Linked DNA regions of Homo sapiens: regions 2 and 3 are each linked to region 1. Evidence: promoter capture Hi-C in human tissues and cell types (Jung and others, 2019). All regions are on one chromosome and are shown on one strand. Each heading gives the region's core, a stretch centred on a gene start or on the middle of the fragment in contact. The rest is flanking DNA. Distances are from core to core; before and after follow the strand shown.

What was found. Contacts are between HindIII fragments. The study calls those that stand out against the background at their distance.
Region 2: a fragment that was not itself captured here is called in contact with the fragment with the promoter of RASGRF1 in region 1 in 2 of the 25 tissues and cell types used here (H1 embryonic stem cells and psoas muscle).
Region 3: a contact is called between a fragment that was not itself captured here and the fragment with the promoter of RASGRF1 in region 1, in 3 of the 25 tissues and cell types used here (IMR-90 fibroblasts, heart right ventricle and spleen).

What each region holds. Positions count from the first base shown.
Region 1 is chr15:79,088,810-79,092,401 of GRCh38, forward strand. RASGRF1 (Ras protein specific guanine nucleotide releasing factor 1) reads right to left here and starts at 1,971. Exons shown (of 27, transcript NM_001145648.3): 1 at 1,414-1,971. The coding sequence starts at 1,689. The HindIII fragment of the contact is 16,697 bases long and covers 269-3,592 here.
Region 2 is chr15:79,124,416-79,128,007 of GRCh38, forward strand. No RefSeq gene overlaps it. Among named protein-coding and RNA genes, the nearest start is that of RASGRF1, 35 kb to the left of the region's middle. The HindIII fragment of the contact is 4,826 bases long and covers 1-3,592 here.
Region 3 is chr15:79,056,067-79,059,658 of GRCh38, forward strand. It overlaps RASGRF1 (Ras protein specific guanine nucleotide releasing factor 1), which reads right to left. Exons shown (of 27, transcript NM_001145648.3): 3 at 2,268-2,415. Among named protein-coding and RNA genes, the nearest start is that of RASGRF1, 33 kb to the right of the region's middle. The HindIII fragment of the contact is 6,925 bases long and covers 1-3,592 here.

The DNA.
Region 1 (3,592 bases), core at 721-3,220:
GAGCTGAAGCTTAAGGAGCTGCCTGCTCTTTGCTCTTCTTTCCATCTGGGAGCCCCTGCTCACCACATGGCTTGTCATCCCCAGGGACCCACCCTCAAAAATTCCTGTCCACACTTCCCAGTCCTCAGAAACTATCTCCTAACACCCATTGGCTGAAGGTAGGGAAGGAAGAGATGTGCTAGAGAGACTGAGCTCGGATCTCTGTCCTGACAATTGGGAGGAAGACTTCAAGCGATGCTTTTATTTCAACCAATTCAATCACCACCAGTCTGTGTCTTCATGCAGCAGTGGCTTTTGAGATCTCGGTTGTCTTTTCAGAACATTGGGACGGCCTCAACAACTTGCATGACGCTGGGCAAGTGAATTTCTCTCTCTGGGCCTCAGTGTCCCCATCTAGGCAATCACCAGCCGTTAGGCCCTATGGATGGAAGGTTCCTGCCTGCAGTGGCATTTTAGGATCCACTATCATCTGCTTTATCTTCCTAGTGGCAAGGGACTGGACCAGATGCTTTTGGAAAGCGCACCAAGCTTAAAGGTGGCTCTCTCTGCAGGTGCCCCTCCTCCCTTCACGCCAGAGGCTCACCCCCACCCCGCCCGGGCTCCCTGTTAGAGCCAGGCCTGGCTCTTCAGCCTTGCAGCTCAGGAAACCAGAGCGCAGCGCTATAGCCGCGACTGCGGCGGCGGCGGCGGCGCAGGGGGCGGGGGAGGAGAGAAGCGCCCACTTCGTCCCGCTGCCTCCGCAGCAGCCCTGGCCCTAGCCCCGGCGCATCAGAGCGGTCCTTGGGAATCTTTGGGCTTGTTGCTCCGGCGGCCGCCAGCTGGGAGCCCACCACCGCTCGATGGTACCGAACCGACCCGTGTAGCCCCATAACCCCAGCCCAACTCCGAGGAGCTAGCGCAGACCGCTCTCCGCCCTCAGCTGCGGCGAGGCAAGGGCTGGCAGCGCTCGGACGCCTCCGTCTTGCCCTTCCCATGCCTAAGCGCGGGGAATTACACGTTCCCGGTGTAGAACAGACGATCGGGGCTATTAGGGCTGGGCGGTGGGAGTGGGGGTTGGGAGCACCATTTTTGGCTGGACGTGTGTCCAGACTCATCGTCTCTGGTCCTTAGGACCCCATCTTCCTCTGCATCTCCAGGTGTCGGCCCCTCTGTACCCGCCTCCCACGGGGCTCGTCCGGCGAAGGGCAGCCGCAGCCCACATCTACTCCCCGCCCTCAATCCCTGCCCCCTCTGCCCGCCGCAGTCACTCGCCTGGCTGGGAGCAAGCCTCCCCTCTCGCTGAGGGTGCAGAGAGCGCCTAGGGCGCCAAGAGTAGAGGGGCCAAAGTTCAAGCGCCATCAGCCAGCCGAAGGCCCTGAGCCCCCAGGGCCGCGGCCGGGACGCAGGGAGGTCAGGACGCGACGCTCGCCTCACCTGTTTCTCCAGCGGCTCCTTGGCCGACAGCGCCGGCTTGGGGGAGGGCGCGCGGTCGCAGACGCAGCCCTCCAGCAGGTAAAGCCCCGAGGGCCGCGAGCTCGAGTCGCTCTCGAAGTAGAAGAGCAGGTTCTGCAGCAGCGCGAACCACTTGGTTTGCCATTTTGTGTTGTCCGAACTCCGCTTGCTCAGGTAGCCTTTGCGCGTGCCGTCCTTGCGCGCCAGCAGTCCCAGGGACGCGACGTGGCCATCATTCAGCCGGATCCCCTTCTGCATGGTGCTCAGAGGCCAGCGAGACCCCACGCGCTTACATCTTCTCCGCGCAGCAGCCCCCCGTCCGTGCGCGCTGCGCGCTGCCTCTCTCTGGCGCTCGCTCGCTCGCTCCCTCTAGCTCTCCCCTCCCCCCAAATATCTACACTCCAGGATCTGGCGCCGAGCCGCGGCTTCTTGAATCCAGATATACCATTCCCCGCTGGAACCTCTTCTCCGCTCCGCAGAGCCCCAGTACCCGGAAGATGCCGCCCGACCCTCCTCCGGTGCCGGGCAAACTGAGGGACTGGCGATCTGCGCGCTGGCGAGGGGCAGGCGGAGTCATGTGACGCCGATCCCTCGAAGAGCCCGTTTCAGCAGCGCGGACAGGGACACACGCACGCAGCCCCGCCGAGGCGCAGAGCCGCGCGCAGGCTGCAACTTGGTGCCTCCTCCCCCTCCCCAGACACACACACACGCACACGCACACGCACACACTCAAACCCTGCCCTCCCTCCCCTCATCTCCCCTTCTCTCCCTCGGATGTTAAAAAGCAAATCAGATCAATTTTCGTTTAACCCAATGAAACCCCGAAGGCTCGCCATCCCGGGAGTTTGCGTCTTTGCGCCCCACCGCGGCGCACTGTAGACCTGGGGTTAAGTGCCAGTTGTCATTTTCTCCTCCAAAGGCTCGCCCCCCCCCCCCACTTTATTTCTAATACGAGGTGGAAGGAGGAAGGTGGGTGGCGAAATAGAGCTGCAAAAGCGTCCAGTCCTAGTCTTTGCATAGTCAGCCGGGTCACATTGAATTCCAGCATCCGGCTGCACTCCCGGCGGCTTCCCCAGCTACCTGAGGACAGTACAGGGGGTGAGATGGGGTGGTGGTTGGTGAACGTTGGTTACTTTATTTTATATTATTTTATTTTGAGAGTTGCCATAATTACCGGCGCCACCCCCCGTGCACCCTGAGGTCTGGTTGGCGAGCCGCTGCTGGGAGTTTTCTGCAAATACCCCCCAAAGCCTGAAGGCGGGCTTCAAACGCAGGCGCCGGGGACCATGGGAGCCTTCAAATAGCTGCGCTGGCGCAATGATACCTTAATGATAGATTTTCCGTTCTTATTTTTAGCTCTCATTCGCCTACACAGTTACACGGCATTTATCCGAGAACGTCACAGCGCCCGCATGCTGCACCGGGAGGGCGCGCGGGCCGCCGGGCGAGCCGGGAGCTGGGGCGGGGAGCGCGCATCGCTGTCTGCCGCAGAGGGCAGCGAGCTCGCCCCGACCCGGAGCAAGCCGCGCCTGGCCCGGGCGCTTTGCAGCGGGGATGGGTGCCCGCGCAGCCCTGTGAAGGAAAGACACCATCTTTCCGCACGGAAACTGCGTATACCCCTCCCCCGACACACACACACACACACACACACACACACACACACACACACACCCCACACTCACACACAGCACACACCACACACGCACAGATACACACCACACACCACACACCCACACACCACACACACCACACACACACACCACACACACCACACACACACACCGCACACACCACACACAAACCATACACCACACACACCACACACGCACACACACACGCCACACACACCGCATACACAAACACCACACACCACACACACACACCATACACCACACACCAACACACCACACACACACCACACACCCAAACACCACACACACCAAACACACACCACACACCCTACACACACACCACTCCCCACACCCCCCCACACCCCACCACACACACGCCACACACACCACACACAGACACCACACACATGCCACACACCACACACACACCACACACACACCACACACCACACACACACCACACACATGCCACACACCACACACATACCACATGCCACATACACACCCCCCACACTCCCCCACACCCCCCG
Region 2 (3,592 bases), core at 438-2,937, 35 kb after region 1:
TCTAAAAACCCAACAGTGTCTTCTGGCTGCAAGAGCTGGAATTAGAAATTGTGATAGACTGTTACTTTGCAGCTGTTGGAGAATTATGCCTCCCAGTATTTCTGTTCTTGTGTAGTCTCCTTCCACATAGACTTGAGCTTGGCCATGTGATTTGCTTTAGCCAATGGGACATTAGCAAATGTGATGCAGGCAGAGGCTCCATAAGTGCTTGCACATTGGGCCTTTTCCTCTTGCTCCCCAGCCACCATACTGTGAGGAAGTCCAGGCCATCCTGCTGGAAAGAGAGATCATACGAAGAAAATACACCGTGAGAGAGATAAGCCACAGGGAGGAGCCCTCAGCAATCAGACATGCGATCTGTATCTTCCAACCCAGCCCAGTCACCAGTCACCAGTCAAATGCAGTGAAGAGACAATACATGAACTGCAATACAGAGCAATACAGAAGAACCGCCCAGCTGGGTCTTGTCTGCATTTCTGACCTTCAGAATCTCCAGCAAACAAGATGGTTCTTGTTTTAGGCCACTGTGTTTTCTAGAAATAGATAACTGAAACAGCACTGCGGGCCTTGCTACCCATATGCATCTTTGTAGCTTCTGCTTCCTAAGTTTACTGACACCACACTTCTTTCCCTCTGTAGGTTGAGAAAATGCTTATTGAAAGACACTCAGCACCCAGTTTGAGGAAGCAGGGAATTAGGACAATGAGTGCTGAGTGCTGCCTCTTTGGTTCCGGGCAAGATGGGAGTGGTAGAGAGGTAATTGCACGTGTTTGATGGTGCTACCCAGCAGAGATGCCCACTGATGCCACTGAAATTCTCAACAAGGAGTGTGGTGAGTTCTCTGCCTCACTGTGGGGTTCTGACTTCTCACTCAAAAGCAAGAATTGAATGCTCAACTCTAGGCATGGCCTAGGAAGGCCACAAGGAGCTCTGAGTAATAGGCCAGCTTAAGATCCCTTTACCAACTGGTGAGAGCTGGAAGACCTGCCTCAACAGGGGGCTCAATTGGACCCAGGTGCTGCTGACAATCTTGTCTTGGCTGCTAAAAATCAACTGAGAAGACACAGATACAGCTGAAATCCCAGGGCTACATAAAAACAAAAGCAGAAAACAGTATTAGGGACTAATCATCCTGTAGGGTTTCTCAGTGAGTTCCATTGCTATTTGTGTCCAAAAAGCATTACTGAATGAAAATGTCACGTCTGAGCACTGAGTTTTGCATCCAGTGGTGAATGCGTACCCAAACTACAGGGGAAAATTTTTAATTCCCATAAAAATATGCAAAGTTACTAATTAAAAATCTTCCCCATCCACATTAAGATCACCAAGTGAGTAAATCTCACAAGCTGATGATTGTACCCAGTTCAGATTTTATTAATAAAATCTAATTTGTTTTCCCAGTTTTATGGATTAGATTCCCTCGTTATGTTATTTATTCCTACCACCTTTTCTTCTTGAATCACAAAATAAATGTCAATTTCAGAAGTTAGATGGTGAATATTCATCTCTCTCCCTAGAATATTGTGGGTGGGAGGCTTTTTTTCCTGATTTAGAAGGGGAAAAAAATCACAATTTAAATATGAAGTACGCATAAAAGAATTGAAAAGGTATTATAAAATGTTCTTTTTTAATTCTCTTTTTATCTCCATTCCCTGCTCTCATTATTCTTCTCCCTGTAGAAGACCATTCTAATATATTTAATGAGTATTGTTTTGTTCCTATGTCTTCCTGGAAATGTGCACTGTTGTTTTGTAGGCATGTGTTTAAAATTGTTGTTACTAGTATTATGTTACAGATCCCATTGTTTCTTCCTTTTTTTAAAATTCAGCACTGTGTTTCTAAGATCTATCTATGTTGCTATATGAACATCTGATCTACTGATTGTAACTGCTGTAGGGTACTCCAGGAAGTTCATTCTCCACATTTCACCTATTAATTCTGCCGGGGATGGACACTCTAATGGCTTCCAACCTTGGCCACATTAAGAAACATTATACTGAACATCCTTGTTCATGTTCCCTAACAAGCCCAATAAAATAAATGTCCATGCATTTACTCATGGATCATAGTGTAAGTTCATACGCCTTTATGTGGTACCAAAAAATCCAGTAAACACACTGATTTATAAAGCTGAATTTAGATTTCTTAAATTCTGTCTTCATTGTCATAATGAAAATGTCCAAACAGCTCAAAGAGTTAACATTGTGACTTTGAAAGTGCAGATAATAATTTTAGAAAAAAGTTATCTCCGAATTAATCAATACATACCCTGCGAGGGAAAAAAATGTTAAAAAACCAAATGTGTTGTATTCATTCAAAACAAACATGCATTCACAGTAAAAATTTCCTAAGATTTGTGTAATTACAGTGCATTTTCCCAGTTGAGCAATATTATGATTTGTTGGAGGGGGCTACAAAGCCACTGAGCAAATGGATCACATGTGCCCACATTTGCTAGTACATGGTCTGTTCACACAGCCTGCTTCTAAAACAACAGCATTCTTGCTTTTCTTTTCAGTTTTAGCTCCTACTTGAAAAAGTCAGATACAACTATAGACATAGGGTGGCTCTTAACCTGCCTTCTTTCTCCATGGGAGGTTACAATTTTATGCAGTGAATCGCTCTTGCTTGTCAAAATGTCCAACAGATTCAAAAGAAGTATTTTTCAATGTATTATTTTATTCTTTTTCCAGGATCTGACATTCTTGGTTCATATTGCCATTTGCATCTGACAGCTCCCTGTTAAGCTCCCAGCTCAAACTATAGAGACCTGCTTGCTTGGGAGTCTGTGGCCATTCCATGGTCATCTCAGCAAAGTCTTTCCCCTTAAGTTTAGCAGGTCTTTATTTCTTTTGTGACCTAGCTCCAGCACTCTCAAAGGATTCAAATGGGGCAACAGACTTTCATATTTTCAATCTCTCTCTTCGAATGACTCCTTCTCCAGTCTCCATTTTGTCATGTAAGCCTCCATTTTGACTCTTGCCATTATAGATGTAGGAAAAAAGAGTTTTTTCAGAGATTCCTGAGCCCTCCCAAATTGTTGGGAGAGTGAATCATCTGAGCTTTGGTTTGGCCAACCCTCTGCCCCTCAATGTGCACGTGGGGAGAGTTTTCCTGGAGCTGGCTAAGCCCCCAGCACAACAAGGACCATCTGGGTACACTTGGATCACAGTTTCTCAGGCCTTACCCCTCATATCCTTCCTACTAAATCTGAAGCCTTGAAACATTTCCCCCTTTCTTCCATCTCTTATGATTTAGAATAGCTCTCCCCAATTCGTATAGAAGCTTCCTTTAAAAAATATGTGCAACAATAGCTGGAAAATTTTTAGAGATGGTTAATAAAGAAAGGGAGCTTTCCCAACCAGATGTGAAAGTGCCTTGAGCTATGGTAACTGATACAGTTTAAGACTGCCACATGAATTGATACATAAGTGGAAAAGAGGAGAAAATCTTAACAAAGACCAAGAAACTAGAAGGATTCAGCATACGGAGATGACAGCATCTCAAATCAGTGATGAAAAGTTGTGTGATACAATATACAATGTTAGGAGTACTGGTTAATCATTTAGGGAAAAAAGAATTAGATCCCTAC
Region 3 (3,592 bases), core at 536-3,035, 33 kb before region 1:
GGGTCCCCCAGGGTGAGGCGTTTGAGCTTGGTAGGATGTCACCAGGTAGGATGCGTGGGGATGAAAAGGGCATTCCAAACAGAAGCACCAGCATGTGCAAAGGCCAGGAGGCGGATAGTGCACTGGTGCCCACAGTGACTGAAGAGGTGGTGCTTGGGGAAAAGGATGAGGTCAGTGGTAGGTGATCTTCAGTGAGTGAGTAAGTGAATGAATGAATGACACTTGGACACTCTTGATCATGAAGCTAATAATCTGGTACTGGGGCTGGACTCCTTCCCTGATCCCATACAGGAGTTCAGTTTAGATTTAGCAATCTGTGTTGGGCGAGGATTGATCCCAGAATGAACTGGGTGGGCCGGAGTGGGGACATCCCTGAACTGAGCTCTGGTAGCCCTGTGGGAAGAGGCTACCAGAGTAGAGTGGAAAGACTGGCAAGCAGACAGGAGACCTGGGTTCCAGTCTCAGCTCTGCCACTTCCCAGCTGTGTGAGCTTGGGCAAGTGACTTGGGCTCTCTGAGTCTGGTTTCTCCTGTGAAATGCAGGTGACTGATCCTATCAGGATGGTTGTGGGGAATGAAAGTATGTCGTGAAGGTGCCTGTTATCAGGCTAGCAGAGATGTGTAGAATCTGGAATTTTTGTTGACCTTGAGGTTGCAAGTTGATATTACTCTTAGTTCAGGGCTTGGCTGCTGCGGAACAAGGTGAAATTGTTGGCTTTAGATCTTTGAACATTCCAGGCAGAGCTGGATTCGCAGGTGTGATGGGGCCCTATGCTCAGAAGGCTCTGCATTCGGGACTTTAAGCTCTTTTGTTGAAATTCTTAAGATAGTTTTCTCTTTGAATTGTGTTTAGTGAGTGGAATTTGATGGGACCATGAGCACACTGCAGGTTCTTGGAGCCTTGGTTCATGCATGTTCCTACCTCCCACCGCTTTTTCAGCTCCTTGGATGGGTCCTTGGCTGCTTATTCCCCACACTCTGGCATCCCAGACCCCAAGACCTCTGCTACCATCTGCTCAGGGAGCAACCGGTTGAGTCAGCTGAGGAGACTCACAGTCCACCATCACCCCCAACCCTCAGCAGATGCCTGGGCATAGGTGCAGGCTGGGGTCCAGTGTGCGCCCCATGGTGTCGCAGGGCAAGGCGACAGCCATCCCTGCTGCAGGCTGGCAGTGCCAGGGTGCATTACGTGGGTGACTCAGAAGGAGCTCCTTGCCCACCCCAGTCCAGCTACTGCGCACTTCCTGGCAGTCAGGGCAGGGGAGGCTACAGGTTGAGGTTGGGTGCTGCCTGTCTGCCATGAGTCAAGTCAGGAGGCTGTGGGACAGGAGAATGACTTCCCTGGCCTGGGCCTTGCATTTTCACCTCACATCAGACCCTGCAAATTAGATACCCAGCTGACTTCAGGAGTCTTTGTTTTCATTTTCCCCTCCTCAGTGCAAAATCTGTGGTCCTTGTATGATATGGCCAGATGGTTCTGAGCATGCTGGTGAGGTGATAAGGGGAAGAGATGATCAGATCATTCTGTGCCAGGGTTGATAGCTGGTGAGGGGCATCTAAGGGACTAAGAGCTAGTGCTTCCTAAGGTTTAATGTAAATGGAATCACCTGGGCTGTTAAACTGTAGATTCCAATTCAGAAGATCTGGGGTGGGGCCTGAGATTCTGCTCCAGGTGAAACCAATGCTGCTGCTTCATGGACCACACTTGGGGAAGCCAGGTGCAAAGAGGCTTAGTCTGGCAACAATGCCGCCTCCAGAATGCTGGCTGGTGGGCCGCTGCAGGAGCTTTCATCAAGATGGATGGAGGGAAGGGGCTGCCTTGGAGTTGAGCAGAAGCCCACACTCTAATGACCTACCAGTGACCCTGCGCTCTCCAGAGTCTTGGGCTAATAATGCAGAATGCTCAGTCAATACAGTGGCTGACACAGTAACTAGGAGCTTGCCCGTAGATAATCTCACTCAATCCTCACGACCTGGTCAGGTGTTTATAGAAAGCCCTGTTTTACAGCTGCAGAAACTGAGGCACAGGCACATTGAGGGACTTGTTCCAGGTTGCAGTCAATAAGTGACAGAGGTGAGATTTAAACCCAGTCTGACCACAGGACCTTCTCATTCTGCCAGTACCACCACGTCCTAAGTTTGGAGTCTGGAAGAACTGCATCTGGGAGCTGCTTTCCCTGCCTGTCATGTGGCTCCCCAATCCTGCAGGAGCCCAGGGTTTGAGATGTTGTGCCTAGGGCCTGGGCCCACCCCCCAGCCCGCAGTCACCTCTGCCTTCAGCCGCTCGATCTCGATCTCCCCATCCTCGATCTGCTGCCGAAGCTGCTTGGCCACGGTCTTCTCTGTCTCCACGATCTGCAGCAGGTGCAGGTATTTCTGCATTAATGCCTCATGCTCTGTGGCGAGGGTCCTGTAGCTGTGGACAGATGGACATGGCAGGTAAGATGCTGACTCCTTGTCCTCTGGCGAACCAAGCAGGGCACTGACCGGGAGAGGGGCTCACCCACCCACCTGCACTTAGCAGAAGGCCCTGACTCCCAGCACCCTGCAGAGTGAGAGGGCTTGGCAGGGTAGAGGTGGGGGCAGTCCAGGCAGGGAGAGAGCTGGAGCAAGGCGGGGCGGTGGGCCCGAGTGCGAGCCTGATCCAGAAAGCACATCTGTGTTCTTGTTCCCACCCACTTTTAAAGATAAATAACAGGGCTAGAAGAGAGAATCCTTTAGTTTATAATGCTATCCTATTAAAGTATAATAAGATTTTGTGCTTCTGTGATGAAAATGAATATCAGGTTTTTAAGTTTTTCCAACTTCTCAAGAGACTTGTTTTTCCTTGTAAAGGAAATTCAGTTGAGAGCATGAAGGAGTCTGTTTTTGTACCACCACAACTCCCCTCACCCCATGGGTGTGAAAATTCAGCTGCTTCGTTAGTCTCTTCTTACTAATGGACCCCGTCAGAGTGCTGTAAAATAGGCGTCCGCCTCATCTGCAGGCTGCTCTGCTAACCTCCCTCCCTCCTTCTGTCCCTCTTCCAACCCTCCCTCCATCCTCCTCTCCTTTCCTTTCCTCTCCTTCCTCCTTTCTTTTCCCTTCCCTATCCTTCCCTTCCCTTCCCTATCCTTCCCTTCCCTTTCCTTCCCTATCTTTCCCTTCCCTTCCCTATCCTTCCCTTCCCTTCCCTTCCCTTCCCTATCCTTCCCTTCCCTTCCCTTCCCTATCCTTCCCTTCCCTTCCCTATCCTTCCCTTCCCTTCCCTATCCTTCCCTTCCCTTCCCTATCCTTCCCTTCCTTTCCCTATCCTTCCCTTCCCAATCCTTCCCTTCCCTTCCCTTCCCTTCCCTTCCCTTCCCTTCCCTTCCCTTCCCTATCCTCCCTTATCCTTCCCTATCCTTCTATCCCCCCTCGTGCAGGTGCAATCTTTACAGACTCACAGACTCTCAGAGTGAGAAGGGAACTTGGGGATCACAAAAGACCAATTATCTCATTTCACAAATGAAGAAACTGAGGTCCAAATCACAGTCCATGAGCGTCAAAGCTGGAGCTAGAGTCGGGCTCCAGCCCCTGACCATGCATTTGTGCCCCCTTTAGTGGTTTTGTCT